Linked DNA regions of Homo sapiens: regions 1, 2, 3 and 5 are each linked to region 4. The links are contacts of gene promoters, found by promoter capture Hi-C in human tissues and cell types (Jung and others, 2019). All regions are on one chromosome and are shown on one strand. Each heading gives the region's core, a stretch centred on a gene start or on the middle of the fragment in contact. The rest is flanking DNA. Distances are from core to core; before and after follow the strand shown. Region 1 overlaps CIROZ (ciliated left-right organizer protein containing ZP-N domains). Region 2 has its middle 47 kb from the start of LINC01647. Region 3 overlaps DRAXIN (dorsal inhibitory axon guidance protein). Region 4 holds the start of UBIAD1 (UbiA prenyltransferase domain containing 1). Region 5 holds the start of C1orf167 (chromosome 1 open reading frame 167).

Region 1 (5,890 bases), core at 532-3,031, 300 kb before region 4:
TGCTTTCCTTTCAAAAGCACGCAGCTTCCACCGCTATCTTTAGCAAGAGATCAAGGCCGTGCCTCTGGCGGAGGAAGACTGTGAAAGGTAGCTCGCTGGGGAAATAAAGTGTCTGAGCTGGATGTGCAAACTGACCTGGATCGTTTTAGTTTTGCATTCACGTTTGCACTTTGTAAATATTTGCCTGGCACCCTGCTGCTCACACCTGCTTGCTGTCCCCTCAAGTTTATGGAAGGCAGCAGGCACCGTCATTTCTCCATCCCCACCTGGCGCTGCCACGTGAAATGAAAACTCTTCCTCAAAAGCCACAGGTGTCTCTGACAGCGCCTAAAACTAATGGCCTGTGGCTGGCCGCTGTGACTAATTCTCTGATTATTGGCTTTATGATTTTACGCTTAAAACTTCTTTATAATAACACACAGAAATGTTTAATGGGCTCTATCCAAAGCCATAAAAATTACTTATTGAACAAGCGTTTTAAGACTATTAATCTATTGTTTTCCATTAATAATGGCTCTCCAAAGAACAGGCGACAGCTTAATGTATCCACAGCTTTTCTCCTGGAAAAGTGGCCTTTTAATACACAAATGTCTCTCCCAAGGCGTCCCGGGCTGGCTGGCCAATGGGTGGTTGGCCCTCCCAGGGCAGATTTAGGCCCTACCGGTCCCAGAAGGTGCTTTAGGAATTTCCAGAATGAGCAGGGTCCCTAGGAGGTTTTCCTAGACTTGGGTGAGATTGGAAAGCCTCCCTCCTCAATATCTCTTTTTCTGTGCAAAAGAGAGGAGGAACCTGGGGGCTTGCTTTGCAGCCACCGAGATGCAGAGCATGGAGGGAAGCAAGCTATTTGCTCCTCTCTCTACTCGTGTTCCCTCCAGAAGGTTCCAGAAGGTTCCAGGTACGCTGAAGACATCCAATGCTTTCCTACTCCTTCTGTTGGAAAGCTCATGGCAGAAAGGTTTCTGGAAGTGACACTATGCCCCTTGTTGTTTGCTATTTTAGGTGCGCTCTTCCCCCACCAAGCATGTGATGGCCTCCCATTTCTCCCAAGTGTTTGAGAATCACCCCTTTAGTCTCACTTCCACTTTTGCAGAGTGATTTCGATTTTGGAGCATAGCGGCACCAGATGGGCGCTTCTTCCAGGGCTTTGGGCCACTTGTTCATTCAACAAATATTTATTGGGAATCTTCTAAGCACCAGGCAGTGTTCTTGGTTCTGAAGATGCAGCTGTAAACAAAAAGCACGTGGGCCGTGCCCTCACAGTGCTGCCTTCTGTTGGGAAGAGGGGCGCAGATGACAAGCTTGGGAACAATGGCAGGAGATCATCTTACTAGTGAGGAGTGCCGGGATTGTGACTGGGGTGGGCGTGGACGACTTTAGAGAGCCTGGAAGGGCTGTGGGGGGAGGTGGCCTTTGAGCAGAGATTTGAGTGATGCCCAGGAACCTGCAAGAGCCATGGGGGAGGAGCATTGCAGGCAGGGGAAGGCAACACAAAAGCCCCAGCAAAGACCCCGCCCAGCCACCGACCACCTCTTACCTGGCAAGTGCAAGGTCCTGGCCAGCCACCGCCTCAGCCCCTCCACGTGGCTCCTTGGGATCCACAGGGTCATGTAGTCTGAGAAGCACTCAACTGTGTCTGTCCAACAAGAAGATGCTTCTGAGAAGGAAGGAAGGAGGAGGGAGGGAGGTGGGGAAGGGAGGGAGGAAGGAAGGAAGGAAGGAAGAAAGGAAGGAAGGAAGGAAGGAAAAGAAGGAGCTCCTCTCAGCCTGGCTTCAATGGAATAGTCAGGAAAGGGCATGTAGGGGTCATATTGTCCTAACAGAGTGACCCTTTACTCCATACAGAGGTCACAGTTCACAGAATGCCCAAGGAGGAAGAACTTGTTGGGGAGGTCCTCAAATTCCAGCCTGCAGGCTGGGCACGGTGGCTCATGCCTGTAATCCCAACACTTTGGGAGACCGAGGCGGGTGGATCACTTGAGGCCAGGAGTTCGAGACCAGCCTGGCCAACACGGTGAAACTCCGTCTCTACTAAAAAATACAAAAATTAGCCAGGCGTGGTGGCGCATGCCTGTAATCGCAGCTACTCAGGAGGCTGAGGCAGGAGAATCGCTTGAACCTGGGAGACAGAGGTTGCAGTGAGCCGAGATCACACCACTGCACTCCAGCCTGGGTGGCAGCGAAACTCTGACTCAAAAAAAAAGATTTCCAGTGTGCCTACAAGTAACCTGAGCACTTGTTAAAATACAGATTCAGTAGGTCTAAGGCGGGGCCTGAGATTCAGCAGTTCTACCAAGTTCCCAAGTGATGGCTGCTGGTCCAGGGACAACACTTTGAGTAGCAAAGTCTTGGAGGTCATTAAATCTAAACTCTATGTTTTATAGGGGGAGACAGGGAGCAAGGTGACTTCATGGTACATATATGAGTACTCGCCAGGCATGGGGGCTCATACCTGTAATCCCAGGACTTTGGGAGGCTGAGGAGAGCAGATTGCTTAAGCTCAGAAGTTCGAGACCAGCCTGGGCCAAAGCAAGACCCCCCATCTCTAAGAAAAAAATTTTTTGTTTAAATTAGCGGAGCATCGTGGTGCATGCCTGTGGTCCCAGCTACTCAGGAGGTGAGGCGGAAAGACTGTGAGCTCAAGAGGCAGAGGCTGCAGTGAGCCGAGATGGCGCCACTACACTCCAGCCTAAGCGACAGAGCAAGACTCCACCTCAAAAAAAAAAAAGAAAAGGTAGAGTAGGGGCAAACTGGCTCAGCCATGGAATTCTGCAGCTTTGCTGACCACTCCAGGCAGAGAGCACAGCCTGTGCCCAGACCAGAGGGGAGAGGCAGTGCGCAATGTCCTGGTCACCCCTGACCCCAGCCTCTGCCCATCCTGCCCCAGTCCATTCTTGACACGGCAGCCACAAGGGATCTTAAAATGGAAATGAGATCATGTCAGTCCCTTCTCAGAACCTTCAATGGCTCCCCACTACCCTTGGAATAAAATCCAAACACTTCCACAATCCATGTGTTCCTGAGCCAAGCTGGTCTTTTCTCTACCTCAGGGCCTCTGCACATACTGTTCCCTCTGCTTGAAACACCATTCCCAACTCTTCATGTGGCTAGCTCTTCTTCATCTGCAGGTCTCAGCTTAAATGTCACCTCCTCTGGGAGGTCCTCACTGACCACCCCCACCCATTCTCTACCCTGGTCCTGTGTCTCTTTCCTTCCTGACTTGAATCACTGTTGGGAATATGTTACCTAGTTGTTTGTGAGATTTCTGTATACTTCTACTCGAGTGAGGATAGATGGAGATAAGGTTGTCTCGCACTGAGGCAAAGAGAAGCTCAGGAAGGAGAGGGGCCATGTCTGCCTTGTTGACCACTCTATCCCCAGGGTCCTCCCATGGACCAGTGCCTGTTGGCCAGCAACTGCTCAGTATCTGTCCAGCAAAGGGCTGTGGCTGGAGCCTGACCTGCCCTGAAGCTGGAGAATAAGAGAAGCCATGACCCAGAGATTTGTCTTTTTCCTTCTCCCCCATGACACATAAACTACAAGCTCCAGGAAAAGGCGTGAGTTATGTCTAACCTGTTCACCATGGCATCCCCAACACCTTGCCCTGTGCGTGGCATCCACAGAGGCGTGCTAAATATGGGTTAGGCACATGTTTTCATCCCAAGTACTCTAGTACAGAACACTGGAGTTTTCTGTAATCACACAAGAACAACAGCATCGTGAGATTGTTCAGCCCCAGGAAGTGGAATCCTGTTGGATGTAACCTATTTCCCCCAATAGAGCCCTGCCCAGAGTTGATAGAGAGCTTAAGTTAAATATACTCCAAGCTGGGCACAGTGGTGCACATCTGTAGACTCAGCTGCTCTGGAAGATGAGGCAGCAGGATCGCCTTTACCCAGTAAGTTGAGGTTTTAGTGTGCGATGATCATGCCTGTGAATGCCACTGCACTCCAGCCTGGGCAACCTAGCAAGACCCTGTCTCTGAAATACACACACACACACACACACACACACACACACACACACACACACACTCTAGAATTATTCTACAACTGAAGAAATGGGAATATGGAATAATATTGTCGGGCTAATTTCTCTCTCAACAGAGACATTTAAGCCACCAGGAAGAACACAAGGCACCTGGGCCCTGGAGTTGGATGATCAGGGCTTAGACCCTGGATCAACCTATGTGACCTGGGGCGAGTCATTTAATCTCTCCAAGACCCCATTTCCTTTTCTGCAAAATGGGCACATGTGCAGTAAATAATTAACTTGGGTCCAAAGAATTGGCCCTTTGCCCCTCCTGGGTGAAAGCAACTGGGAAGTAAATTCTAAGCCCTTGGAATGTTTTGCCTGTTAAGAGTGTCTCTGTGGCTGGGTGTGGTGGCTCATGCCTGTAATCCCAGCACTTTGGGAGGCTGAGGCAGGAGGATCACTCGAGTCTAGGAGTTCAAGACCAGCCTGGGCAACATAGCGAGATGCCCCCCCCATCTCTAAAATAAATAAGTAAAAATTTAAAATAAAAAAAAAAAGAGTGTCTGTTTACCTGGGGCATTGGGCCTTGCCGTATAGCCTTTGCTGAAAACGTGATTAATGCTGGTGGCCTTGGACCATGTGGTAATCAGTTCAGCCTCTGGAGGGGCTCAAGACTAAAGTCAGGCCAGGTGCAGTGGCTCACGCCTGTAATCCCAACACTCTGGGATGCCGAAGTGGGCAGATCACTTGAGGTGAAGAGTTCGAGACCAGCTTGGCCAACATGGTGAAACCCCGTCTCTACTAAAAATACAAAAATTAGCTGGGCGTGGTTGCGGGTGCCTGTAATCCCAGCTACTCGGGAAGCTGAGGCAGGAGCATCGCTTGAACCTGGGAGGTGGAGGCTGCAGTGGGCAGAGATCATACCACTGCACTCCAGCCTGGATGGCAGAGCGAGATTCTGTCTCAAAAAATTAAAAACAAAATAAAAATTTTAAAAAGACTAAAGTCAGCCACGTGGGTAGTCAGCCATGGCTATGCAACTGACCTCCAGTAAACCCTCTGGATAGGAAGGCTCAGGAGCTCTTCTCAGGTCTGCATACTCTGTATGTATTGTCACTCATCGCTGCTGAGAGAAGCTGGCCCCGTCTGTACAACCCCACGAGGAAAGGGCACCTAGAAGTGGTGGCAGTGGCTGCTGCCATCACACTGGCTGCAGCAGGGAGGTGTGGCTGGGGTCGAACACTCTATGGAGCTGGTGGGAGCCCCGCCCCTTCTGAGTTGGGACGGGAACTCCTTGGGTGCCTCGGCAACCTCCCAAACCGCAGCTGCAGATCCAGGCCTCCTGCTCTGTGGAGCAGGCAGGAGCCCCACCCTCCTGGATGGGGCTACAGCTGCCCAAACTGCAGCTGTGGATCGGAGCCTCCTTGTGCTCTTGGGGGAGGGCTAGGAGCAGGCAGGATCTGCCTTCCCGGGTGCAGCGGCAGCTGCCTTCCCAGGCCCAGGAGCTGGGTGTCTCTGCAGCCTGCACCCTCGGGGACCCCAGGAAGGACCCCCCCCACCAAGTCTCTGCAAGCTCAGGGGTGTCTTCTGCTGCCTGGCCTCTCTCCACTCTAGGGGCCTGCTCAGAGCTCTTAGGGGGTTTGGGGCCAAGCCTGTGAGCCATGAATGGCAGTGGGAGGCTGATTGATTCCTGGGTGGAATGGGGCAGGTCCCCAGTAAGGCCCCACCTGTGGGCCAGGGAGGGCCAGGGCTGCGGGCCGGGCTGCCAGTCCCCTGGACTGGAGTAGGGACTCGTGGTGCCTCTTTCTGGCTGGCCCATAGCTGCCCATGGACCAATCAGCACACACTTTCTCCCCTTTGAGGTCCATAAAAGCCCAGGGCACAGCCAAAGTCAGGCAGAGGACGGCCACAGGAAGAC
Region 2 (5,899 bases), core at 2,359-4,858, 290 kb after region 4:
TAGAGAACCAGCTCTCTCCAGGCCCCCCACTGTACCCCACCCCATCCTATCTCTTCACTAATCCCCCAACCCCCACCCCAGAGGTGCAGCGATAAGCTCAAACAAGGAGGGAAGACCAGAGGTGAGGAGGCGGGAGTCACTGAGAACAGCCATTATCAGTTTAGACAAGTGCCAGGGCCTCCAGCCCCAGCTGGAGCACCGCCCACAGCCCCAGCTACCAATTTACCAGGATGCTAAAGCCTCATCCATGTTTCATTTCAGACACTGGGCTCCCTCAGCTGCCACCGCTCCCTTCTGTGGACCCATTTGACGCCTCTCTGCCTCAAACAAGACCCCAAACCAGAGGGGACACGCAGGCTCTGAGCTGCCAGTCCCTTCACCCAAAAGTGTTCATGCATGTGCACGCACGTGCATGTGCGCGCGCGCGCACACACACACACACACACACACACAAACACACATAACCGCATTCTATGATGAGTTCAGACCCCTCTCTGAGCCCAAGACCCCACCCTCCCCTCCCTCTGTGGCACCAGAAGAGCTACTCACCCCCCTCACCAGGGCGGGGACCCCGCTCTTTCATGCCTCCCGCTTGGGCATCCTCACCTCCCCCAGGGACCTGGTCCTTGTGCCTGACACAAATCTGAGGATGTCAGCAAATCCGCATGGGGTGGGGGATGCCATCTTGAATCCCTGCAGGCAGATCTGGGACAAGATCAGGGAATTTCAAGCATGAAAAGATCTCCTTCAGAGATAAAGGAGTTACTATTCATCGTCTCCTTCCAAAGGTGGAGTGATAGGCATTTGCCTTTTCCCCCTCCTTGCAAAACCAACTGGAAACTAAAGCAGCCGGAGGGCTCGGCGGGACCCTACAATCTATGGAAACTGCAGGATTTTATTAGCTTGGCTGTAGATAGGCAGGGGAACCAGGGCAGCAAACTCAACCGTGGGGAGACAGGTGGGGCAGAGGGTGGGGGGCTCACCCTACTTCTATCTGAGCACACAGCCCAACTGGGGCTTCAGCAGCAGGGGATGGGAGGGGACCATGAAGCTCTCGGACACAGGGACAGGATCTGGGGGAACAGGGGGATCGGGGGGCCATGTTCTATTTCAGCTCTACTCTGGAGACTTAGACAAGGCCCTTCTCCTTGGCTTTCATTCATGCAGCTGTAATATGATGGAATTGGATTAGATCAGTCAGTTTTCAAACTTCTCAAATCATGGGACCCTCTGTATAAACAGTCTTCAGTGGAAGTTCCGTATGTGAAATGGGTCTGGAAGGTGGTGGCTGGGAGGATCCAAAGTTCTGCCCATTGGCCCTGCAGAGACCCCTGAGGAACAGTGTGCAAACCTCTGGCCTCGACGGTCTCAGGGCTCTGCTGTCCCCGGATTTTCCAGGTGAGAGCAGGCAACGTCCTGCTCCAGAGCAGGTGGGGAGAAACAGGGTGGGCTTCTGGGCGGCCCTTGAAGCAAGCAGCAGGCAGCACTGGAGAGACTCAGTAGAGCATCCCAGACTGCAGGAGGTGCAAAGACCCGGAGGCAGGAACACAGGAGTCCTGGGAGAAGGCCACGGGAGGGCCCCAGCTGGCACAGGGAAGCCCTCTTGGGGATTGAGGAGTCGCCATCAGATGGGCATGGGGAGAGCTGAAGGAGTTGGCTTTGGGAGAATCTTGTTGACTCAGACTGTCCTGTTGCCCCCACCCAAACACTTGGCAGAACCCCTCCCCAGTGTTCCTTCTAGAGTCCCCAGACCTGCGAAATTCCCTCTGCAGGCAGAGGTCAGCTCCAGCACCTCCCTAGAAAGTTGTATATGGCCTGGGTCATCTTCCTTGGGGTGACTGCCCTCCCTCACAGGCTGTGCCAACCTCTGTGTCCCTCCGATTCCCCTCTGTGTCTCCGCGTTCCCGGAGAGTCACCCTGAGATGGAAAATCCAGGGCTTGGGGTGGCTCTAGTTGGAGGCTTGTCATGGCCTCTCTGGGACCTCTGAGATTTGAGTAATGGGACTTGCCAGGGGAGACACACTGCTAAACCTGCCTCCCTCCTGTCCTCAAAAGTGAGCCCTAAATGGGGAAAGAAGAGCCTCTTCAAGCAATGCAGGGACAGTTGGATACTTGTGAGCAAAACAAAAGAGTAGAGGCCAGGCATGGTGGCTTATTCCTGTAATCCCACCACTTGGGGGGCCATGGTAGGAGGATTGCTTGGGCCCATGAGTTCAAGACCAGCCCAGGCAACATGGCAAGACCCTGTCTCTACAGAGAAAGGAGAGAGAGAGAGAGAAAGGAGAGAGAGAGAAAGAAAGAAAGAGAGAAAGAGAAAGAAAGGGAGAAAGAGAGAAAGAAGGAAAGAGAGAAAGAGAGAGAGAGAGAAAGAGAGAGAGAGAAAGAAAGGAGAAAAGAAAGGAGAAAAGAAAAGAAAGCCAGCATGATGGTGTGCACCTTCAGTCCTAGCTGAGGCAGGAGGATCATTTGAGCCCAGGAGTTAGAGTTTGCAGTGATCTATGATCATACCACACTGTACTCCAGCCTAGGTGACAGACTGAGACTCTGTCTCTAAAAAAAATTTAAAAATAAAGGCATGAGATCCTTCCTCACACTGTACACAAACATTAACTCCAAATGACTCATAGGCCTAAATGTAAGAACTAAAATTATAAAACTATTAGAAGAAAACATAGCAGTAAATCTTCATGACCTTGGGTTAGGCAAAGCCTTCTCAGATACAACACCAAAAGCAAAAGTAACAAAATAACAAAACAGATAAATTGGACTTTAACAAAATTAAAAACTTCTGAACTTCTGGCCGGGGGTGGTGGCTCACGCCTGAAATCCCAGCACTTTGGGAGGCGAGGCAGGTGGATCACCTGAGGTCAAGAGTTCGACACCCGCCTGGCCAACATGCTGAAACCTCATCTCTACACAAATTAGCTGGGCGTGGTGGCGCTCGCCTGTAGTCCCAGCTGCTCAGGAGGTTGGGGCAGGAGAATCGTTTGAACCCGGGAGGCGGAGGTTGCAGTAAGCTGAGATGGCACCATTGCACTCCAGCCTGGGCAACAGAGCGAGATTCCATCTCAAAAAACAAAAACAAAAACAAAAACAAAAAAACCTTCTGAACTTCTAAGAACACTGTCAAGGAAGTAAAAAGACAATGTGCAACATGGGAGAAAACATTTGTGAATCATGTATCTGATAAGAGACTTGTATCCATGGCGTAGCAATGAGGGGAGAGGATTTGAATCCTATCCTCCTCCTACAGGCCATGTGACCTGGGGAAGTTATGCAACCTTGCTGGGCCTCAGTGTTCTCATCTGTAAAATGGGAGTGGAAATAAAAGGCCCCACGTCACAAAGTGCTGTGAGGATGAAAGGGGGGAATGTAAGATAACGCCTGGCCCAAGGCAAAGTGCGCCTTAAATGTGGTCGAGTACCTACTGTGCGCCAGGCCTCAAAGGGCTCCAAGCCTAACAGAGAGATGCAGTGTAAAGGGCCCATCCCACCCTGAATGGAGTGACATCAGGGCTCCTTAAAAGCACAGCAACCCCAAGCTCCAAGTGAGGAGGGGGCAATCCTGGGGTGCTGCCCAGAAAAGAGGGCTTCTGAACAAGCTTTGGGTGTGTCCCCGGCCTAGACCAGTGGTCCCCAAAGCATTTTGACAATCTAATCAGATGGGAGTCCCACCCAACCCACTGAGTCCCAATCTTTAGCCTCAGGAGCCTGGGAATCTGCATTTTCCAAAAGGTCCTCTGTTGAGTCTAGCCATGAACCAGGCTTACACACAGCTGGGAGGCTGGGGGACAGGGACAAGGAAGGTGGGGCAGGGACCCACTGAGGCTTCCAAAGCAATAAGCAATGGCATCTGAGGGCACAGGCTGTCTAAGGAGAGCCCCTGCCATCCCTCTGCCCCTTGGGCCTTTGTGTCCCCAGCAGGGAGAGCACATGCAGGGACTCACAGTCTCTGTCCCCGCCAGCCAGCGGGGCTGATACTGGCCGGCCATTATCTGCCTCCCTGAGGTTTCTTTGCTGTCGAGAGGCAGCTCTGCGAGCTCCTTGGAGGGTCCCCCTGGGGCACTGGAGTGTCTGTTTACAGTTCATTAGCTACTTGACAGAGAGGCTCTGAGAGGGAGAGACATAAAGAGGAAGTGTCAGGGCAGGGGCCCCGCAGATCCGTCAGAAATGAAGATAAAGCTGCTTGCAGATGAGGAGGTCTGACAGTGGCGACAGCTGGGCGCCAGGCCTTGCAGGTGGCCGGTGAATGCAGCTCAGCCAGCCTTCCAGACTCGTTGCCCCAGGCCTGCCCAGTCGGCCTGAGATCCCACACCGGGCCTCCACCAGTTTCCCTGCTGCTGGCTGCCAGCTCTGATGACTACTCATGTCCCAGAAACAACCACGAGGTCCAGCAAGAGGGGACTGGCTAGGGAAACGGCCCGGCACTCCCTCTGTGGGGTATTTCCCAGCCATTCAAGATGCTATTTATAAAGACTTGGGCATTACATGAGGAAATACTTATATGCCATAGGAGAAAGTGGAAAAAAGCAAGACACAAAATTATATCAACAGTATCAGGGTAGGTGCGGTGGCTCACGTCTGTAATCCTAGCACTTTGGGAGCCCAAGGAGGGAGGATTGCTTGAGCCTAGGAGTTCTAGGCTCTGTCTACAAAAAAGTCAAAAAATTAGCTGGACATGGCAGTGCATGCCTGTGGTCCCAGCTACTTAGGAGGCTGAGGTAGGAGGATTGCTTGAGCCCAGAAAGTCAAGGCTGCCCTGAGCTGTGCGGTGCACTGCGGTAGGAGGCAGGGCTCAACTCTGGAGGTGGGGCTCAGACATTGGACCAAATTGAGGATTGGCTAAAACAGGACGATGACAGGGGAAAGCAACTTTTCATAAGACATGCCACCAGTGTGCGATGTCAGTTTACTGTTGCTATGGAAACACCTGGAGTTACCGCCCCTTTCCATGGCAATGACCTAGTGACCCAAAAGTTACTATCCCTTACCTAGAAATTTTTGCATAAACTTCCCCTTAATCTGCATGTAATTAGAAATCAATATAAATATAACTCCAAAACTGCCCTGAGCTGCTACTCTCTGCCTGCAGGGAAGCCCTGCTCTGCAGGAGCAGTCACAGAGCTGTAGGACTGCCATTTCAATAAAGCTGTTTCCTTCTACTCTACCACCGGCTTGTCCTTGATTTCTTTCCTGGGAAAAGCCAAGAACCCTCATGGACTCAGCCCCACTTTGGGGCTCGCCTGCCCTGCATCAGTGCCACTGCACTCCAGCATGGGTGACCAGAGTGAGACCCCATATCAAAAAAAAAAAAAAAAAAAAAAAAACACCAGTTTGAACCCAGTGAAATGAAAATAACTCATAGAGAAAAAAAACAACAACACCTGGAAGGAAAGATAACCCAAAATGTTGATGGTTGCCCCTGGGTGGTAGAAACAAGAGTGATCTCTTTCTCTACTTTCTTCTTTTCTACAGTTCCCAAATTTTGCATACTGAACACGTCTGCTATTATAATAGCAGCAACAAAGTCTATTTTAAAAATAAATAGACTTTAAGTCTATTCATCATCTGAGTTCCTGCACCCACAGGGTTGCCTCCTGCACCCACAGGGCAAGGGCAGGCCTGGGGTGAGAACATGGGCTCACCAGTTCCAGCTTTCCCCACCTGGCCTCCTTGAGGCCCAAGCCCACATTTCCTGCCCTGAGCTGGGGGTCTGAGCCATTAGTCACCCGGATCTTTCAGGGGTATCCGAGGGAGTTTCCACACTCACCCCTCCAGCCACAATTTGGAGGCAAGGGGAGCTTCCTGAGAGCTGGGCAGCCCCTCGCAGCCCACCCCCTCACACCCAAGAACGAGCCTCCAGTACCCCATGTTCACAAATGCAGCGGAGCCTGCCGGAG
Region 3 (5,969 bases), core at 440-2,939, 440 kb after region 4:
TACCAGCTGGAGGCCGCCAGCAAGTGCTTTCCCCAAGAGAGATCGGAGCGGCACACCTCCACGGCACCACGATTGTTAGATCAGTGACCAGAATATTCTACAAAACAGCAACCAAACCAGCAATTAGCATTGTATAAGGCAAACCACCAGCTCCCTGACAGGCTGCTTCATTCCCAAACCATTGTTTTCACCCTGGGCACAAAGAAAAGGCCCGCATTTGGGCCGACTGGACAGTCGCTCTGGGAGCCGGCTCCATGGCAGGTGCCCAGGACTTCAGTTTCCCCATCTGTCAAAAGAGGACATTGGTTTTGGGGATCCTGAGGCCCCTCCCAGCTCTGAGCTGACTCCACACCTGGCAGCCCCCAGCTGTTCTACTGGCTCTGTCTGGGAGGAGACCTCACACCACCTTCGCTCTTCCCATGGTCAATCAGTACCCCATCTGAGGCAGCTGGGGTCTCTGCCACCGACCCTTGGGGGCCTCGGCCATGACATCTCCCTGTGGTTCCACTCAGGAGCCTTGCACACCAGATGGCCCACCCCGCCAGGGCGCGGCCTGCCACAGAGATGATGGATCTCTTGTCCAGTGGGACCGAGTGCAGGGCTGCGGGGAGGGGCGGCTCAGCTTGGCTGACTGCGTGTGCTCTCTGTGTTGGCAGGGACTTGCTGCGACCTGCGGGAGCATCTCTGCACACCCCACAACCGAGGCCTCAACAACAAATGCTTCGATGACTGCATGTGTGTGGAAGGTGGGTCCAGACTCCTTTGCGGGGGGCTACCCATGCTCTGAGAACCACAAAGCCTCCCTTTCTCGAAGCGGCTTCTGCACCGAGTGGGGAACAAGCTTTCCTGGCAGAGGGTGGATCATGGGCCTGCGGCGGGGGTGTAGGTGGGAGAATCCCTCGGGAGCCGAAGACGTGAGCAAGAACAGCTTTATCAGTGCCTTCCCAATCTGTGAACTCATTTAGTCCTGATTCTTGGCATCATTTCTGAGATTTGCTTTTCTCAACTTTTGAAATACAAGCTGGCACAATCTCCCACTATCTGGAAGAGGGAGAAGGGAGGAGACAGGAGCACATCTCTTTAAATTAGATCCAGCCTCAGAAGGCTGCCGCTTTCACACCAGAATTCTATCCCAGAGGAGGCATTGAAGTGTGATAATGGGGTGGGGGTGGGTTTCCCAGCATGTCCCAGGGAAGGATGCACTTGCCCAGCTGCCTCTTCAACTCCTCCGTGCCCCCACCTCGCCTAAGTGTGCTGGGCTCTGTGCTGAGCACTTTTCTACTGAAATCCCCATGACCACCCCTAGAAAGGAGCTATGATGATCCGCACTGTACAAATAAGCCAACTGGGGCACAGAAAGCTTAATGATGCCCAAACTTACACAGCCAGGAAAGTGGGGGGAATAGTTTCAGGTTTTTGTTTTGTTTTGACAGGTTTTACTCTGTCACCCAGGCTGGAGTGCAGCAGTGCAGTTTTGGCTCACTGCAACCTCTGCTTCCCAGGCTTAGGTGATCCTCCCATCCCAGCCCTGCAGGTAGCTCTGACTACAGGCGCATGCCACCAGCCCAGCTAATTTTTGTATTTCTGGTAGAGGCAGAGTTTTGCCATGTTCCCTAGGCTGGTTTCAAACTCCTGACCTCAAGCGATCCACCTGTCTTGGCCTCCCAAAGTTCTGGGATTACAGGCATGAGCCACCACACCCAGCCAGTTTCAATTTTGTATTCTGCAAAGTTTCAAATATATACTAAAGTAGTTAGAATAGTCTAATGAGCGCCCATTTCTCATCACTCTGCTTCAATACCAACTCACGGCCAATCTGTGTCTATCATCTCTCACACACTTTCCTTATTCCGACATGATTTCTAAGCAACTCCTGGGAGCTTACAGGTATTTCACCTGTGAATATTTTAGTGTGTACCTCTGAAAGACAAGTACTCTTTTAAAAACAAAATGCCAAACATGAACGATAATTAATCAGTTCCATCCAATATCAAATCAGCATTCACACATCTCCTGGATGGGGGAATTGGGGCTCAGCCCCTCTGTGGACCTGAGATACATGCCCCGTTTTGCTCATATTAGCCTCAGAGAGTTATCTACCATGATCGTGCCACTGCACTCCGGCCTGGATGATGGAGCGAGACCCTGTCTTAAAAATGATGATAATACATCTTTTTCTTCCCAATTTTTAAAATTGTGGACTTTTAAATTTAATTTAATTATTTTTTGAGACAGGGTTTCACTCTGTCACCCAGGCTGGAGTGCAGTGGCGCAATCCCAGCTCTCTGTAGCTTTAACTCCCGGGCTCAAGGGATCCTCCCGCCTCGGCAATAAAGCTATGTAGTTCTGATTATTCACTCATCTAATCAGTTAAATATTTAGGGAGCACCTACTGCGTATCAGACATTGCTCTGGACACTGGGGGGTTCAGTAGTGAAAAGAACCAGCAAGTTCTGTGCCCATGAATTACATTCTAGTGATATGAGCAGACAACAATCAAATACATAGATAGTATGTCTTTAGAAAATAATAAGGGCTATGGCCGAGCATGGTGGCTCATGCCTGTAATCCTAGCACTTTGGGAGGCCGAGGCAGGAGGATCACTTGAGGTCAGGAGTGAGACCAGCCTGGCCAACATGGTGAAACCCTGTCTCTACTAAAAATACAAAAATTAGATGGGCATGGTGGCACTTGCCTGTAATTCCAGCTACTCGGGAGCCTGAGGCATGAGAATCGCTTGAACCCGGGAGGCAGAGATTGCAGTGAGCCGAGATCCTGCCATTGCACTCCAGCCTGGGTGACTGAGTGAGACTCTGTCTCAAAAAGAAAAAAAAAGTAAGTAATAAGGGCTATAAAGATAATAATATGATAATGAGTCCTACAGTTGTTTTAGAAAGGGTAGACAGAAGTGGGCATTGGAGGCCAGGGGAGTGGTTCATGCCTGTAATCTCAGCACTTTGGGAGGCCAAGGCGGGCAGATCATGAGGTCAGGAGTTTGAGACCAGCCTGACCAACATGGTGAAATCCCATCTCTACTAAAAATACAAAAATTAGCCGGGTGTGGTGACGCGCACCTGTAATCCCAGCTACTCAGGAGGCTGAGGCAGGAGAATCTCTTGAAACCAGGAGGCGGAGGTTGCAGTGAGCTGAGATCGTGCCTCTGCACTCCAGCCTGGGCAACAGAGAGAGACTCCGTCTCAAAAAAAAAAAAAGAAAGGGTAGACAGAAGTGGGCATTGGAGGCCAGGCGGGGTGGTTCATGCCTGTAATCCCAGCATTTTGGGAGGCCAAGGCAGGTGGATCCTTGAGCCCGGAGTTGGAGACCAGCCTTGGCAAGGTAGAGAGACACTGTCTCTACCAAAAATACAAAAAAAAAAAAAAAAATTAGCCGGGTGTGGTGGCGCACACCCATAGTACCAGCTACTTGGGAGGCTGAAGTGGGGAGGATCACTTGAGCCCAGGAGGCAGAGATTGCAGTGAGCCGAGATCTTGCCATGCCACTGCACTCCAGTCCAGGCAACAGAGCAAGACCCTGTCTCAAAAAAAAAAAAAAAAAGGGAGGCCCGGCACGGTGGCTCATGCCTGTAATCCCATCACTTTGGGAGGCGGAGGTGGGCAGATCACTTGAGGCCAGGAGTTCAAGACCAGCCTGGCCAACATGGTGAAACCCCATCTCTGCTAAAAAAAAAAAAAAAAAATACAAAATTAGCTGGGTGTGGTGGCGCATGCCTGTAATCCCAGCTACTCGAGAGGCTGAGGCAGGAGAATCACTTGAACCCAGGAGGCAGAGGTTTCATAAGCCAAGATGGTGCCGCTGCACTCCAGCCTGGGTGACAAGAGCAAAACTCCATCTCAAAAAAAAAAAAAAAAAAAGCAATGGCTCTCCATAGGATGTTTTACAGGGAAGGGCAGAATTTGAGCCACTTAAAAAAAAATTTAATAACCTTTTTCCTTTCCAATTTTCAAGATTATAGACTTTTTAATTGAATTTATCTGTGTATTTTATTTTTTAATTTTTTTGAGACAGAGTCTCACTCTGTTACCCAGGCTGAACTACAGTGGTGCAACCAAGGCGCACTGCAGCCTGGAACTCCTGGGCTCAAAGGATCCTCTCATGTTAGCCCCTCCTTCCTATAGTTGGGACTACAGGTGTATGCCACAATGCCTGGCTAATTTTTACATTTTTTGTAGAGATAGGGTCTCCCTATGTTGCTTAGGCTGGTCTGGAACTACTGGGCTCAAGCGATCCTCCCACCTCAGCCTCTCAAAGTGCTGGGATTACGGGTGTGAGCCACCGTACCCTGTGGACTTTATTTTTAGAGCAGTTTTCTAGAAAAATTTCACAGAATGTGGTTCTCATATACCTGCTTTGCCCCTGCATGCAGTTTCTCCTATTAATAACATCTTGCAATCATGTGGTAGATTTGTTTGTTTGTTTGTTTGTTTGTTTGTTTTCTGAGAGGGAGTCTAGCTCTGTCGCCCCAGCTGGAGTGCAGTGGCATGATCTTGGCTCACTGCAAGCTCCACCTCCCGGGTTCATGTGATTCTCCTGCCTCAGCCTCCCAAGTAACGGGGATTACAGGCACCCACCACCATGCCCGGGTAGTTTTTGTATTTTTTTAAGTAGAGACGGGGTTTCACCATGTTGGCCAGGCTGGTCTCAAACTCCTGACCTCAAGTGATCCACCTGCCTCGGCCTTACAAAGCGCTGGGATTATAGGCGTGAGCCACCGTGCCCGGCCTCTCTTGGTACATTTGTTGCTTGACAAACCAATAGTGATGTATTATTATTACTAACTGAAGTCAACGTAAGTTATAGTTCACTGTGCGGTGCATTCTGTGGGTTTTGACAAATGCATGCCATGTCCCACCATTACGTGTCACACAGAATATGTTCACCGCCCCGACCGCCCTGAGTCTTCTCTGTTCTCCTTCCGTGTTCATTCCTCCCCTCTTCCGGGTTCGTGTCTTTTAAGCTCATTGGGGCTGCCGTGAGGAAGCTGGGTTGTAGGGCAGAATAATGAAGGCAGGAGGGAGCTGGCTGGCCCCGAGCGTGCAGGGGAAGGAAGGGGAGGGCACGGGCCCTTCGCGCCTCTGACCCCCCTTGCCTCCACTCGCCCAGGGCTGCGCTGCTATGCCAAATTCCACCGGAACCGCAGGGTTACACGGAGGAAAGGGCGCTGTGTGGAGCCCGAGACGGCCAACGGCGACCAGGGATCCTTCATCAACGTCTAGCGGCCCCGCGGGACTGGGGACTGAGCCCAGGAGGTTTGCACAAGCCGGGCGATTTGTTTGTAACTAGCAGTGGGAGATCAAGTTGGGGAACAGATGGCTGAGGCTGCAGACTCAGGCCCAGGACACTCAACCCCAGGAGGGGAGCCGCTCGGCGAATGAGCTGGGTGGGTGCCCAGGAGCCGGCCCGCAGCACCTGCACACACGAAGTCCGGACCCACGCAGCCTCCATCCCGCGTGTCTTGCTCTCCGCGATGGCAATGCCGAGAGTGCCCTCTACTGTCCGACTCCAGCACTGCAACAGCTTCAAGTTCAAAACCAAGAGGCGTTTTTGAGAGTGGAAAAGAAATTTAAACTTCCCGAAAGAAGGTCCACCATCAGGAGATGAATATGGAACATCTCCTATGTACCAGGCACTGTGCTAAGTGCTGGAATACATTATCTCATTGAATTATCACAACGACCTTTTCAAGTAGGCATTATCACCATGCGACAGGTTGAGGACCGTGAGGCACGCTGGAGTTATTTGACTCGACTTGCCCAGGGTCCCAGGTCAGTGCTCCTCAAACCTGAACATGCTAAGAGTCACCTGGAGGTCCAGTTAAAAATGTACATCTGGCCGGGCGCGGCGGCTCACGCTTGTAATCCCAGCACTTTGGGAGGCCAAGGCGGGTGGCTCACCTGAGGTCAGGAGTTCGAGACCAGCCTGGCCAACATGGGGAAACCCCGTCTCTATTA
Region 4 (6,110 bases), core at 2,698-5,197:
CAGGCCCCGGTGTGTGATGTTCCCCTCCCCGTGTCCATGTGTTCTCATTGTTCAACTCCCACTACAAAGAACTTTCTTATGCATTACACTAAAATAATAGCTAATATTTATTGAGCACTTACAGTGTATCAGGGATTTTGGTGGACATTATAGAGTACTTGTTAAAAGCAGCTTGGAGTCAAGTCAAACTAACTGAATCTGAAATTTGGCTGCAACACTTTGTACCTATTTCCTTATGTGTAAAACTGGAAGGATTATAGTCTCTTCGTTGGTAGGCAGTATTGTGGGGGTTAAACGCTAATACCACACGTAAAGTACCTAAAAGAGGTACTTGGCCCAGCATGGTGGCTCACACCTGTAATCCCAGCACTTTGGGAGGCCAAGGCAGGTGGATCACCTGAGGTCAGGAGTTCGAGATCAGCTTGGTAAAACCCTATCTCTACTAAAAATATAAAAATTAGCTGAGCATGGTGGCAGACGCCTGTAATCCCAGTTACTCAGGAGGCTGAGGAGGAGAATCACTTGAACCTGGGAGGTGGAGGTTACAGTGAGCCGAGATCGCACCACTGCACTCCAGCCTGGGCGACAGAGCAAGACTCCGTCTCAAAAGCAAACAAAGTATATGGCTCATGTGAAAAGTCAATAAATGCTGTTTACTATTATTCCTGAGCATTTCTATGAGGCAGGTTGTATTGTTCCCACCTTATATATAAGTAAGCCAAAGAACAGAGATATTGGGACATGGAATTGGTAAGTGATAGAGCCAGGATTTTAATCTATCTGCTGATATATTGTCTGATTTGACATTGTATGACTCATGGGTTTGGCCAGCATAGAAAGCTCTGTGTTGAGTGGTGAAGTTGTAATGTTCAACAACCAGATTGGGGGTAAGTGGAAGCAGACATGTACAGAGCTAGCTTCACAGCTGTGTCATGCTCTGTTTTGCAATTGTTAATGATTTTGAACAAGAGGCCCCACTTATTTTTTTTATTTTTTAAATTAATTAATTATTTTTTTTGAGATGGAGTTTTGCTCTTATTGTCCAGGCTGGAGTGCAATGGCACGATCTCGGCTCACCGCAACCTCCACCTCCCGGGTTCAAGTGATTCTCCTGCCTCAGCCTCCTGAGTAGCTGGGATTACAGGCATGCGCCACCACTCCCGGATGATTTTGTATTTTTAGTAGAGACGGGGTTTCTCCATGTTGGTCAGGCTGGTCTTGAACTCCCAACCTCAGGTCATCTGACCACCTTGGCCTCCCAAAGTGCTGGAATTACAGGCGTGAGCCACCGTGCCTGGCCTGGCCCCACTTATTTATTGATTTTATTTTATTTTTTTGAGATAGGATCTCACTCTATTACCCAGGCTGGAGTGCAGGGGCACAATCATGACTCACTGCAGCCTCAACTTCCCAGGCTCAGGTGATTCTTCCGCCTCAGCCTCCCAAGTAGCTGGGACCACGGGTGCACACTGCCACGCCTGGCTAATTCTTTTACTTTTTCTTTTTCTTTTTTTTTTTTTTTGAGATGGAGTCTTGCTCTGTCGCCCAGGCTGGAGTGCAGTGGCACGATCTCGGCTCACTGCAAGCTCCGCCTCCGGGGTTCATGCCATTCTCTTGCCTCAGCCTCCCAAGTAGCTGGGACTACAGGTGCCTGCCACCACGCCTGGCTAATTTTTTTGTATTTTTAGTAGACATGGTGTTTCACCATGTTAGCCAGAATGGTCTTATCTCCTGACCCCATGATCTGCCCGCCTCGGCCTTCCAAAGTGCTGGGATTACAGGCGTGGGCCACTGCACCTGGCCCACACCTGGCTAATTCTTCGATTTTTACCGTGTGGTCCAGGCTGGTCTTCTCCTGGGCTCAAGCGATCCACCTGCCTTGTCCTCCCAAAGTGTTGGGATTACAGGTGTGAGCCACCACATCTGGTCTTTTTAATTTTTTAGAGCGGAGATCTCACTTTGTTGCCCAGGCTGGTCTCTAACCTGAGCTCAAGAGATCCTCCCGCCGGGTGCGGTGGCTCACACCTGTAATCCCAGTACTTTGGGAGGCTGAGGCAGGCGGATCACGAGGTCAGGAGATAGAGACCATCCTGGCTGACACGGTAAAACCTTGTCTCTACTAAAAATACAAAATAATTAGCCGGGCGTGGTGGCGGGCGCCTGTAGTCACAGCTACTCGGGAGGCTGAGGCAGGAGAATGGTGTGAACCCTGGAGGCGGAGCTTGCAGTGAGCCGAGATTGTGTCACTGCACCCCAGCCTGGGCAACAGAGCAAGACTCCGTCTCAAAAAAACCTCCTGAGTAGCTGGGACTACAGGCACACATTATCACCCCCAGCTCCACCTCTTTAGTTTGCACTGGGTACCACAAATTATGTAGTCAGTCCTGTGTGCATCTATGTTGCATGTGTATTATAATTTCACTGATGTAAATGATGTGTAGCATACAGTTTACAAATACTAAAATATACAGTACAGGACTCTATTGTAAACTCCATATAGCCAGTTCTCACAGTATGCTTTCTTTGATGTTGTGTAGCTTCCCTATGGTCCCAATTGATCAATGAGCATAGTTCAGACATGAATGTTGGTTGATATTTTATGTTAGGAGTAAGAGGAAAGTGAAACAATCAAAAGAGATATGTCAGAACTTCACTAGTTTGTCAAGGCTACAAGCGACTTATTTGTTCAACTGGATAATAATTTGCCAATGCTGAACGAATATTTCCTCAAAGTTTTGGTGCATTCACTTACACACTTTTTTTCTCTCTTTTTTTTCTTTTTTGAGACGGAGTCTCGCTCTACTGCCCAGGCTGGAGTGCAGTGGCGTGATCTTGGCTCACTGCAGCCTCTGCCTCCAGGGTTCAAGCAATTCTCCTGCCTCAGCCTCCCGAGTAGCTGTGATTACAGGAATGCACCACCACCCCCGGCTAATTTTTTTTTTTTTTTTGAGATGGAGTCTCACTCTGTTGCCCAGGCTGGAGCCCATTGGCATGATCTTGGCTCACTGCAACCTCCATCTCCCGGGTTCAAGCAATTCTCCTGCCCCAGCCTCCCGAGTAGCTGGGATTACAGGTGCCTGCCACCACGCACGGCTAATTTTTGTATTTTTAGTAGAGACAGGGTTTCGCTATGTTGGCCAGGCTGATGTCGAACTCCTGACATCAAGTGATCCGCCTGCCTCGGCCTTCCAAAGTGCTGGGATTACAGGCGTGAGCCACCGCACCCTCCAACACTTTTAAGTTTAACCAGTAATATGAACATTTTCTCCGCCACTTTCTTAAGTCTAGACGACTTAGCAGTTATTAAGCATTTGCTGATTTGCGTGGTGTAAATTCTCCCACCATGGGCAGATTTCAAGCTGCTGAAGGATGTCACTGAATGAAAAGCTGATAAGAGGTGAGCAGTAGCACATCATAGAGTATTTCCACGGTGCAGATATGATAGACGTCAGAATGTATGCACACAGCAGGCGCTCAATAAATGCTTGTAGCATGAATAAATTAATGAATCCTACTTCGTGAATGAAAGTGCGCCCGGTAAGTCCTAAAGCAACACGCCTTCGAGTTCTTATGATGCTAAGAGAGGCTGATTGCAGTTAGTCTGGAAGTAGCTGCGGGGCGCAGTGCAGGCAGGAAAAGGGCTGGATGCCGGGTCACCGCCCGGCCCCAGCTCCTGGCCCGTCCCCGCTCCCGGTCCATTCCCGCCCCGGCCCCGCCCCCTCCCGCCCCACCACCGGTCTGGCCCCGCCCCTCAGCCCCGCCCCACCCCTCACCGCCCTTCTCCCCGCCTCTGACCCCGCCCCTCCTCTGACTCGGCCCTGCCCGCCCCGCCTCTGACCAGGCCCCCGCCCCCCACCCCTCACCGCCCTTCTCCCCGCCTCTGGCTCGGCCCCGCCCCCTCCCGCCCTCCAGCCCACCCTCCGGTCCAGCCCGCGCCGCCGGCACCTGTTTCCGGGCGGGCCTCCAGAGGCCGGCGCACAAGATGGCGGCTCTGGCGGCCTAAAGAAGGCGGCCGCGGCTCAGCCGTGGGCTCTAACGCGGGGCTGGGGGCCGGAGACAGACTTCGCCCAGGTGACGGGTAGTAGGGGCGGCGCCGCTTGGCCTCGTGGGGTGTAAGACCCACTTGCTGTTGCCCCCGGACCTTGCCGCCACACCAGCCCTGTCCTGGGGCGGAACCGAAGGAAGGTCGGGCCCTGCTGCCCCGCCCCGTCCTTCCTCCTTCCCGGGCGGTCACTGTGCGTGGCTCACTTTTAGAGTTTACTTCAACCACGTGGAGCTTCCATGGCGGCCTCTCAGGTCCTGGGGGAGAAGATTAACATCCTGTCGGGAGAGACTGTCAAAGCTGGGGACAGGGACCCGCTGGGGAACGACTGTCCCGAGCAAGATAGGCTCCCCCAGCGCTCCTGGAGGCAGAAGTGTGCCTCCTACGTGTTGGCCCTGAGGCCCTGGAGCTTCAGTGCCTCACTCACACCGGTGGCCCTGGGCAGTGCCCTTGCCTACAGATCCCACGGTGTCCTGGATCCCAGGCTCTTGGTGGGTTGTGCCGTGGCTGTCCTGGCTGTGCACGGGGCCGGTAATTTGGTCAACACTTACTATGACTTTTCCAAGGGCATTGACCACAAAAAGAGTGATGACAGGACACTTGTGGACCGAATCTTGGAGCCGCAGGATGTCGTCCGGTTCGGAGTCTTCCTCTACACGTTGGGCTGCGTCTGTGCCGCTTGCCTCTACTACCTGTCCCCTCTGAAACTGGAGCACTTGGCTCTTATCTACTTTGGAGGCCTGTCTGGCTCCTTTCTCTACACAGGAGGTAAGATTTGGCCTGTCCTGTGTGCTGCAGGTCTTAGTCGCGTCCACTGGAAACCGCTGCTTTGTAAAGGAGTTATAGGGATGTCAAAGGTGGCTTTCTAATTTAAGCCGCTTTAATTGAAGTCTATAATTGTGGGTGATGTGAATTTTTTGAAACAGTGATTTGAGAAGATCCTGGTTTGACTTACGGACGTAGGGCATGACTGAAAATTTTATATGGACATTTATTTTTATTTATTTTTTATGTATTCATTTTTGAGACGGAGTCTCGCTCTGTCGCCCAGGCTGGAGTGCAGTGGTGCGATCTCGGCCCACTGCAGCCTCTGCCTCCCGTGTTCAAGCGATTCTCCTGCCTCAGCCTCCCGAGTAGCTGGGACTACAGGTGCACGCCACCACGCCTGGCTGATTTTTGTATTTTTATTAGAGACGGGGTGTCACCATGTTGGCCAGGATGGTCTCGATTTCCTGACCTCGTGATCCACCCGCCTCAGCCTCCCAAAGTTCTAAGATTACAGGCGTGAGCCACCGCGCCCTGTCAGGACATTTTTTAATTTTTTTTATTTTTTTTGAGACAGAGTCTCGCTCTGTTGCCCAGGCAAGGGTGCAGTGGCACCATCTCGGCTTACTGCAACCTCTGTCTCCCGGCTTCAAGCGATTCTTCTGCCTCAGCTCCCCGAGTAGCTGGGACTACAGGCATGTGCCACCACGCCTGGCTAATTTTTGTATTTTTAGTAGAGACAAGGTTTCACCATGTTGGCCAGGCTGGTCTTGAACTCCTGACCTCATGACCTGCCTGTCTTGCCCTCCCAAAGTGCTGGGATTACAGGCGTGAGCCACCATGCCCGGCCTATATGGACATTTTTTCTGTCTCATTTTTTTTTTTAATCACTCATACTTTATAATGCCACAGTTTCAAATATTAGAATTAAATCTGAAGAGTTCAAAATGATATAGATAATTACTTCTAGCTAGTTTGCTAGGTGACTTCTTGCAAGAGGCTGATTAAGGTAGTGATGGGCAGGTGGGTAAGCCCTATTTATTGAGCACCTATTATGTGCCAGGCACTGTTCTGTGTGAACACAGCAGTCACAGATCCCTGCCCTTGTGAAACTTACGTATTATCATGAAAAGAGACAGAAAGTAAAAATAGAAAATTATAGTTAGGGTGACCAATATCCTGGTTTGCTCAGGACTAAGGTGACAGGACTAAGTCGGATGTGCGACTTCTGGAGCTAAAACCAGAAAAGTTCCTGGTAAGTCAGGTTGAATTGATCACCCTGATTATAGTATATGAAAGATGA
Region 5 (6,180 bases), core at 1,484-3,983, 490 kb after region 4:
TGACCCTCACATCAAGGCAGAGAGGTAGGGGAGGGAGGTGTTACCACCCCCACCACTTTTGTTTTGTTTTGTTTTGTTTCGTTTTGTTTGAGACAGTTTCACTCTTGTCACCCAGGCTGGAGTGCAGTGGCGCAATCTTGGCTCACTGCAAACTCTGCCTCCCGGGTTCAAGAGATTCTCCTACCTCAGCCTCCCCAGTAGCTGGGACTACAGGCACGCACCACCACTACCAAGCTAATTTTTATATTTTTAGTAGAGACGGGGTTTCGCCATGTTGGCCAGGCTGGTCTGGAACTCCTGACCTCAAGTGATCCACCCACCTTGGCCTCCCAAAGTACTGGGATTACAGGCGTGAGCCATTGCATCGGGCCTAACCATCCCCCTTTTACATATGAGGAACCTTAGGTTTAGAGAGGTTAGGGACTTGCCTAAGATCACACAGCAGCAGAAGGATTTTTTTTTTTTTTGAGACAGGGTCTCACTCTGTTGCCCAGGCTGGAGTGCAGTGACATGATCGTAGCTCACTGAAGCCTTGAACTCCTGGGCTCAAGCAATCTTACTGCCTCAGCCTCCCAAGTAGGTGGGACCACAGGTGTGCACCACCACAGCCGGATGATTTTTGTATTTTTTTTTGTAGTGATGAGGTCTTGCAATGTTGCCCAGGCTGGTCTTGAATTCCTGGGCTTATGAGAGCCTCCCACCTCAGCCTGCCCAAGTGCTGGGATTGCAGGTGTGAGCCACTGCGCCTGGCCAGCAGAAGGAGTTCATCACAGGTTTTCTGACTGAGTGCTCTTTCCTCTCCCAGCAGGTGCTTAGAAAGGAGAAAACATACAGTCTGGACAGAGGAAGGAGTGGGATGGCTGGGCACAGTGGGGAACAATGTGGGCAAAGGTTTGGGAGGTGGAAAGTGGACGGACCTTTGCAGCCTTGAAGGAAGTGTGATCGAGCTAGGCTGACGGCACGGCAAAGCTTGGGTATTAAGGTGGAGTCCAGCCAGTTTCTGAGGTGCCTGAAGGCTGGGAGAGTTTTTCTTTCTTTTTTTTCTTTTCTTTTCTTTCTTTTTTTCTTTTTTGAAACAGAATCTCACTCTGTCACCCAGGCTGGAGGGTAGTGGCATGATCACCACTCACTGCAACCTCCACCTCCCAGGTCCAAGCAATTCTCCTGCCTCAGCCTCCTGAATAGCTGGGATTACAGGTGCACACCATCACACCAGCTACTTTTTGTATTTTTAATAGAGATGGGATTTTGCCATGTTGGCCAGGCTGGTCTTGAACTCCTGACCTCAAGTGATCCGGCTGCCTCGGCCTCCCAAAGTGCTGGGATTACAGGCATGAGCCACCACATCCAGCCTTTTCTTTTCTTTTCTTTTTTTCTTTTTTTTTTTTTTTTTTTTTTGAGACAGAGTCTTGGTCTGTTGCTCAGGCTGGAGTGCAATGGCAGGATCTTGGCTCTCTGCAACCCTTGCCTCCCAGGTTCAAGTGATTCTCCTGCCTCAGCCTCCTGAGTAGCTGGGATTACAGGTGCCCGCCACCATGCCCGGCTAATTTTTGTATTTTTAGTAGAGACAGGGTTTCACCATGTTGGCCAGGCTGGTCTTGAACTCCTGATCTTGTGATCCGTCCACCTCAGCCTCCCAAAGTGCTGGGATTACAGGTGTGAGCCACTGTGCCTAGCCTTTCTTTCTTTCTTTCTTTTAACAAGAAATTTGTTATAGTTTTATTTTCCTTTGCATTTGCAAAATACTTAGGACCAACATGAAAAAGAAATACCTTCTATGGGGAAAAAAATGGCATTAAAAAGGAAGATGGGAAGGCTGAAAGGGATTTGTGCCTTAGTTGCAAGGAGCTGCAGCATCTCTGGTCCAAGGAATCAAAAAGATATTGGGAAGATATAACAGGAGGAAGAAGAATGTGAATTTACTGAGGGAGAGGGCCCCAAAGTGGGCCTTGAGGGGGAACTGGAGGCCCCGGAGTGGGTCTGGGTGGAGGGAGAGTCCCCCCCGGAAGCCATAGGGTGGGTGTTGGGGAGGGCCAGTGTATCCATGAGGCAGCATCGGTGGAGGAGGTCCACACATACCATGGAGGCATAGGACGTGAGTGACCCATGGGAGATCCAGACCGAGACCCCTTGGGGGACATGCTCATTGGAGGAGGTCCAGGATGAGGCATTCCAGGTGGTGATCAGGGTGGTGGCTGCCCCCCAGATCCTGGGGTCCCATCACGGGTGTGTCCTCAGCCATGAGGGCCATGGTTTGCCAGCTGCATCTGAGACATCCCTGGATGGGACATCGCACCTATTGGGAACGGGTGAGGATGTGAGTGTCCATGACCCGGATGTCCTGCCCCTGGGGTTCCTACCAGTGGGAGCCGGGGGCATGTCCTGCAGCCCCAAGAGGCATAGGTGGTGGGGACATGGCTGGGGGTATCCCAGATGTGCGGGGGCTCCAGGAGGCAGCTCTAGGTGCGGGAAGGAGCCAAGAGGAGGCACGCCTGGTGGAGGAAGCCCAGACCCCAGTGATGCTGCCACAGGATTCGGGGCAGAGGGTGGAGGAGGTTCCCGGGGACCTGATGGCCAAGAGAATGTCGCTCATCTTGCACGTGCAAAAGTTGCCCTGGGACCACGTGCCTTGCCTGCGGAGGACCCGGCAAAACCTGTACCAGGACGTCGGTGGCCACGCCCACGGCTCAGGGCTGGGCGGGGCCAAGCGCGGGGCAGCACGCTCTGCTCTCCGACGTCCCCTCCCGCCCGCGACCTGCCGACCTGCGGGGATCGTTAGCGGTCCCAGCCCCCGTCTAGATTCAAATCCGACTGGGTGAAGGAGGACCCGAGGAGGACCCACGCACGTGAGGGCAGATCCATGAGGGCAGGAAACTGACCTCAGACTCTTTTGGTGGCAAGAGGAGGGAGGCTGTGAGCCCCCTTAAGTGGACAGGGGTGGGGGTGGAGTGGGAGGGGGGAGTCTGAGGGAGACGGACGAGGAGCGGAGAAATGGACCGAAGAGCTCCGGCGTGAGGGGCAGGGGTGCAGGAAGGTCTCCTGTGGATTGAGCGGCCTCAAGTCAACTTGGGCAAGAGGGGATGGTGGGGTGTTCTTGGTTAGGAGTCTGCGCTGTGGAGCCAGCCCTGGGGTGCTCCCTCTGAGGCCTTGGGTGGGACAGGCCCTTCTAAGCTCCTGTCCTCATTTCTAAAACAGGGAACCTAAGTCCCAGGGCTGCAGTGCAGATTAAATGGCAGGACGCCTGCTGAAGGCTGCAAGGTGCCTAGCACGGTTGTCATTTATTCAATGTGCATTTACAAGCCCCTGCTGGGGGTCAGGCATTGTTCTATGGGCTGCAAATCCAGCAGGGAAACAAACAAACAAAAAAAACCAGCCTGCCCTCGTGTGGCTCCTAGGCCACTGGAGGGAGAAATACACTAATTTCTTCACTATGTTAGGTGGCCGCAAGTGCAGGGCAAAGAGAGTGAGGAGAGGCCAGGTTGCTGCAGTTGGAGAGACAGTGGGCAGGGAGGGCTCACTGTGATGTGGGAGGCAAGACTTGAAGGCAGAGGGGACAGCAGCACAGAGGCGCTGAGGTGAGGTCGTGTGTGCCATTTGGAGGAGCAGCCAGGGGGCTGGTGTGTGTGGAGGACAGTGGGCAAGGGGAAGAGGAATTGGGGAGGACCATAACTGGCAGCCAGATTTTAAAGACTTTGCGGGGCTGGGTGTGGTGGCTCACGCCTGTAATCCCAGCACTTTGGGAGGCCGAGGCGGGCCAATCACCTGAGGTCAGGAGTTCGAGACCATCCTGGCCATCATGGTGAAACCCTGTCTCTACCAAAAAATAGAAAAATTAGTCTGGCGTGGTGGCATGTGCCTGTGGTTCCAGCTTGTTAGAGGCTGAGGTGGGAGGATCCCTTGAGCCCAGGGAGGCAGGCGGAGGTTGCAGTGAGCCGGGATCACGCCATTGTACCAGCCTGGGTGGCAAAGTGAGACTCCGGCTCAAAAAAAAAAAAAAAAAGGTTTTGCAGCCTAAGGTATCTTGCAGCTATTGAGCTCTGCTATTGCAGCTGGAAAGCAGACAGTCTGTAAACAAATGGGCTTTGTTTCAATATAACTTTATTCACATAATAGACCACTGGCCCAGGCAGTAATTTGCTAACCTCTGGCCTACAGCCTTGAAGGCTCACGGGGCATTGAGGGGGCTGGAGAGCTTCTGTGGCATTAGAGTTGAGGCAGGGCATGATTTGATTTCAGTGTTTACAGGATCACCCTGCCGCCGCATGAAGAGGAGGCTGTCGGGCGTGAGGACGAGGCAGAATAAGGGTGACCAGTTGGGAGGTGGCAGGTGAGGGCCACTCCGCCCAGTGCTCCAGGGGTCAGATCCTGGATGCGTGTGGGAGGCAGAGCCTGTCAGAGCAGCCACTGGTGTGAGGGAGAAGGGGAATCGGGGTGGCTCCAGGATTTTTGTTTGAGCCACCAGAAGGCCGGAGCTGCCATCCGTGGAAAAGGGGGGCACCAAGATGGGAGAGAGCTGGTTGCGAGGACGGCTGGAGTTCAGTTTTGGACATATTAATGCTGAGATGCCTGTTAGACATCCGGGTAGGCGTGGAGGAGGTCGCTGGACCTGCATGTTCAGACCTGTATGCAGATCAGCCGAGAGGTCTGGGGGGCAGGATGGGGCAGCATTTGACCTGGACACTTAATATGGAAAGGGGGGTGATAAGTAGGGCAGGGAGAGGAGCCACTGAGAGACCAGAACAGTGAGGGGCAGGCCCCAGGCAGCTGGGACCAGGCCAAGAGCAGCTAGGAGTACTGCTAAAGGGAGGAGGTAGGGATCAGAATGGGGTGGGGTTGAATGAGAGCCAGGGCAACCTGTCCTCTCCCCGCAGGGCCCATCTGATTAAACAGACCAGGCCACTCACTGTGGAGTGGACCAAGGATACTCCTGTCCCTGAGCCCATGGAGCTAAGGTCTGATGCCAGCCACAAGGAGAATGTGTCCCCAAAGCCTGCAGCGCTCCCGAAGCCAGGCAAGAGGCTTAGTGGGCCTGGATGGGCAGTTACAGGAGCAGGGCCCTCTCTAGGTATTGGCCCAGAGCCCCCCTCCCAGGCAGGCCAGCCTATAGGGCCTGGCTAATTCCAGAGATCAGCCACCCACGGTCGGCTGGACATAGGACAGAGTCTTCCCAGCCTGGGGCCTAAGGAGGGGGGTCTTGGGAGAGTGAGGTCAGGAAGAGGCCTGGCTGGTGCCCCTGGCTAAGATGGGGCCCCCACAGCTCGGTCCTGGGGACATCCCTTCTCAGGCTGCTGAGGCTTTAAGAAAGCCACAGAGGGCCGGGCGTGGTGGCTCACGCTTGTAATCCCAGAACTTTGAGAGGCCAAGGTGGGTGGATCACCTGTGGTCAAGAGTTCAAGACCAGCCTGGCCAATGTGGTGAAACTGCGTCTCTACAAAAATACAAAAATTAGCCAGGCATGATGGCGGGTGCCTGTAATCCCAGCTACTCGGGAGGCTGCAGCAGGAGAATCACTTGTACCCAGGAGGCGGAGGTTGTAGTGAGCCGAGATGGCACCACTGTGCTCTAGCCTGAGCCACAGAGCAAGACTCTGTCTCAAAAAAAAAAAAAAAAAAAAAAAAGAAAGCCACAGAGCTGGGCCAGCCAAGAAGGGGAGCAGCCCAAGAACAAATGTAGATTCTTGAATTCACATCCCAGTTTCTTCGTGTTCCAGCTGTGTGACCATGAGGCAAGTTGCTTGACCTCTCTGAGCTTTAGTTCCCATCCACAAAGGCAGTAACTTTTATGGCCCACTCTACCTGCCAGGCCCTGCGCCCAGAGCCTCCCGGTACCTCATCCATCCCCACAAGGACTCTGTGCCTGTGGAGTGGGCTTGGGGGCTGGGGAGGAGCTCCAAGGCCCCTCTCCATGTTCCCAGAGCAGCTTACCTTTAGCCGTGGCTCTATGGGGTCCTGCTTTCACCCCAGCCCACTGCCCCCACCACCTCTTTGCTCAAGCCAGAAATCAAGGAGTCCCCCTTGATTCTTTTCTTTTTTTTTCCCTTTATTACCTGACTCTTCCAAGCCCGCTGGCTCCATCTCTGAAGTTTATCTGAATCTTCTCTTTACCCACCTGCTACCCCGATCCCACCACCGTCATCTCTCTCCTGGGACCCCCTCAACAGCCTCCTAAATATCTCTCTGC

What was found. The method cuts DNA at HindIII sites, captures the fragments that hold promoters and counts their contacts. A contact is called where the count stands out against the background at its distance.
Region 1: a contact is called between a fragment that was not itself captured here and the fragment with the promoter of UBIAD1 in region 4, in 1 of the 25 tissues and cell types used here (spleen).
Region 2: a fragment that was not itself captured here is called in contact with the fragment with the promoter of UBIAD1 in region 4 in 2 of the 25 tissues and cell types used here (heart left ventricle and thymus).
Region 3: a fragment that was not itself captured here is called in contact with the fragment with the promoter of UBIAD1 in region 4 in 6 of the 25 tissues and cell types used here (aorta, bladder, dorsolateral prefrontal cortex and 3 more).
Region 5: a contact is called between the fragment with the promoter of C1orf167 here and the fragment with the promoter of UBIAD1 in region 4, in 1 of the 25 tissues and cell types used here (spleen).

The regions. Positions count from the first base shown.
Region 1 is chr1:10,968,436-10,974,325 of GRCh38, forward strand. It overlaps CIROZ (ciliated left-right organizer protein containing ZP-N domains), which reads right to left. Exons shown (of 13, transcript NM_001170754.2): 3 at 1,535-1,654. Among named protein-coding and RNA genes, the nearest start is that of CIROZ, 11 kb to the right of the region's middle. RefSeq lists a silencer at 69-168. The HindIII fragment of the contact is 8,687 bases long and covers 1-5,890 here.
Region 2 is chr1:11,559,585-11,565,483 of GRCh38, forward strand. No RefSeq gene overlaps it. Among named protein-coding and RNA genes, the nearest start is that of LINC01647, 47 kb to the right of the region's middle. RefSeq lists an enhancer at 1-387. The HindIII fragment of the contact is 3,838 bases long and covers 1,690-5,527 here.
Region 3 is chr1:11,714,463-11,720,431 of GRCh38, forward strand. It overlaps DRAXIN (dorsal inhibitory axon guidance protein), which reads left to right. Exons shown (of 7, transcript NM_198545.4): 6 at 657-746; 7 at 5,122-5,969. The coding sequence ends at 5,234. Among named protein-coding and RNA genes, the nearest start is that of AGTRAP, 19 kb to the right of the region's middle. RefSeq lists an enhancer at 5,282-5,351. The HindIII fragment of the contact is 6,853 bases long and covers 1-5,116 here.
Region 4 is chr1:11,269,251-11,275,360 of GRCh38, forward strand. UBIAD1 (UbiA prenyltransferase domain containing 1) reads left to right here and starts at 3,948. Exons shown (of 2, transcript NM_013319.3): 1 at 3,948-4,810. The coding sequence starts at 4,282. RefSeq lists silencers at 3,527-3,796, 3,857-3,906 and enhancers at 3,907-4,076, 4,167-4,216. The HindIII fragment of the contact is 12,769 bases long and covers 1-6,110 here.
Region 5 is chr1:11,759,460-11,765,639 of GRCh38, forward strand. C1orf167 (chromosome 1 open reading frame 167) reads left to right here and starts at 2,734. Exons shown (of 21, transcript NM_001010881.2): 1 at 2,734-2,846; 2 at 4,872-5,011. The coding sequence starts at 4,942. It also overlaps the pseudogene LOC101060126. The HindIII fragment of the contact is 8,265 bases long and covers 420-6,180 here.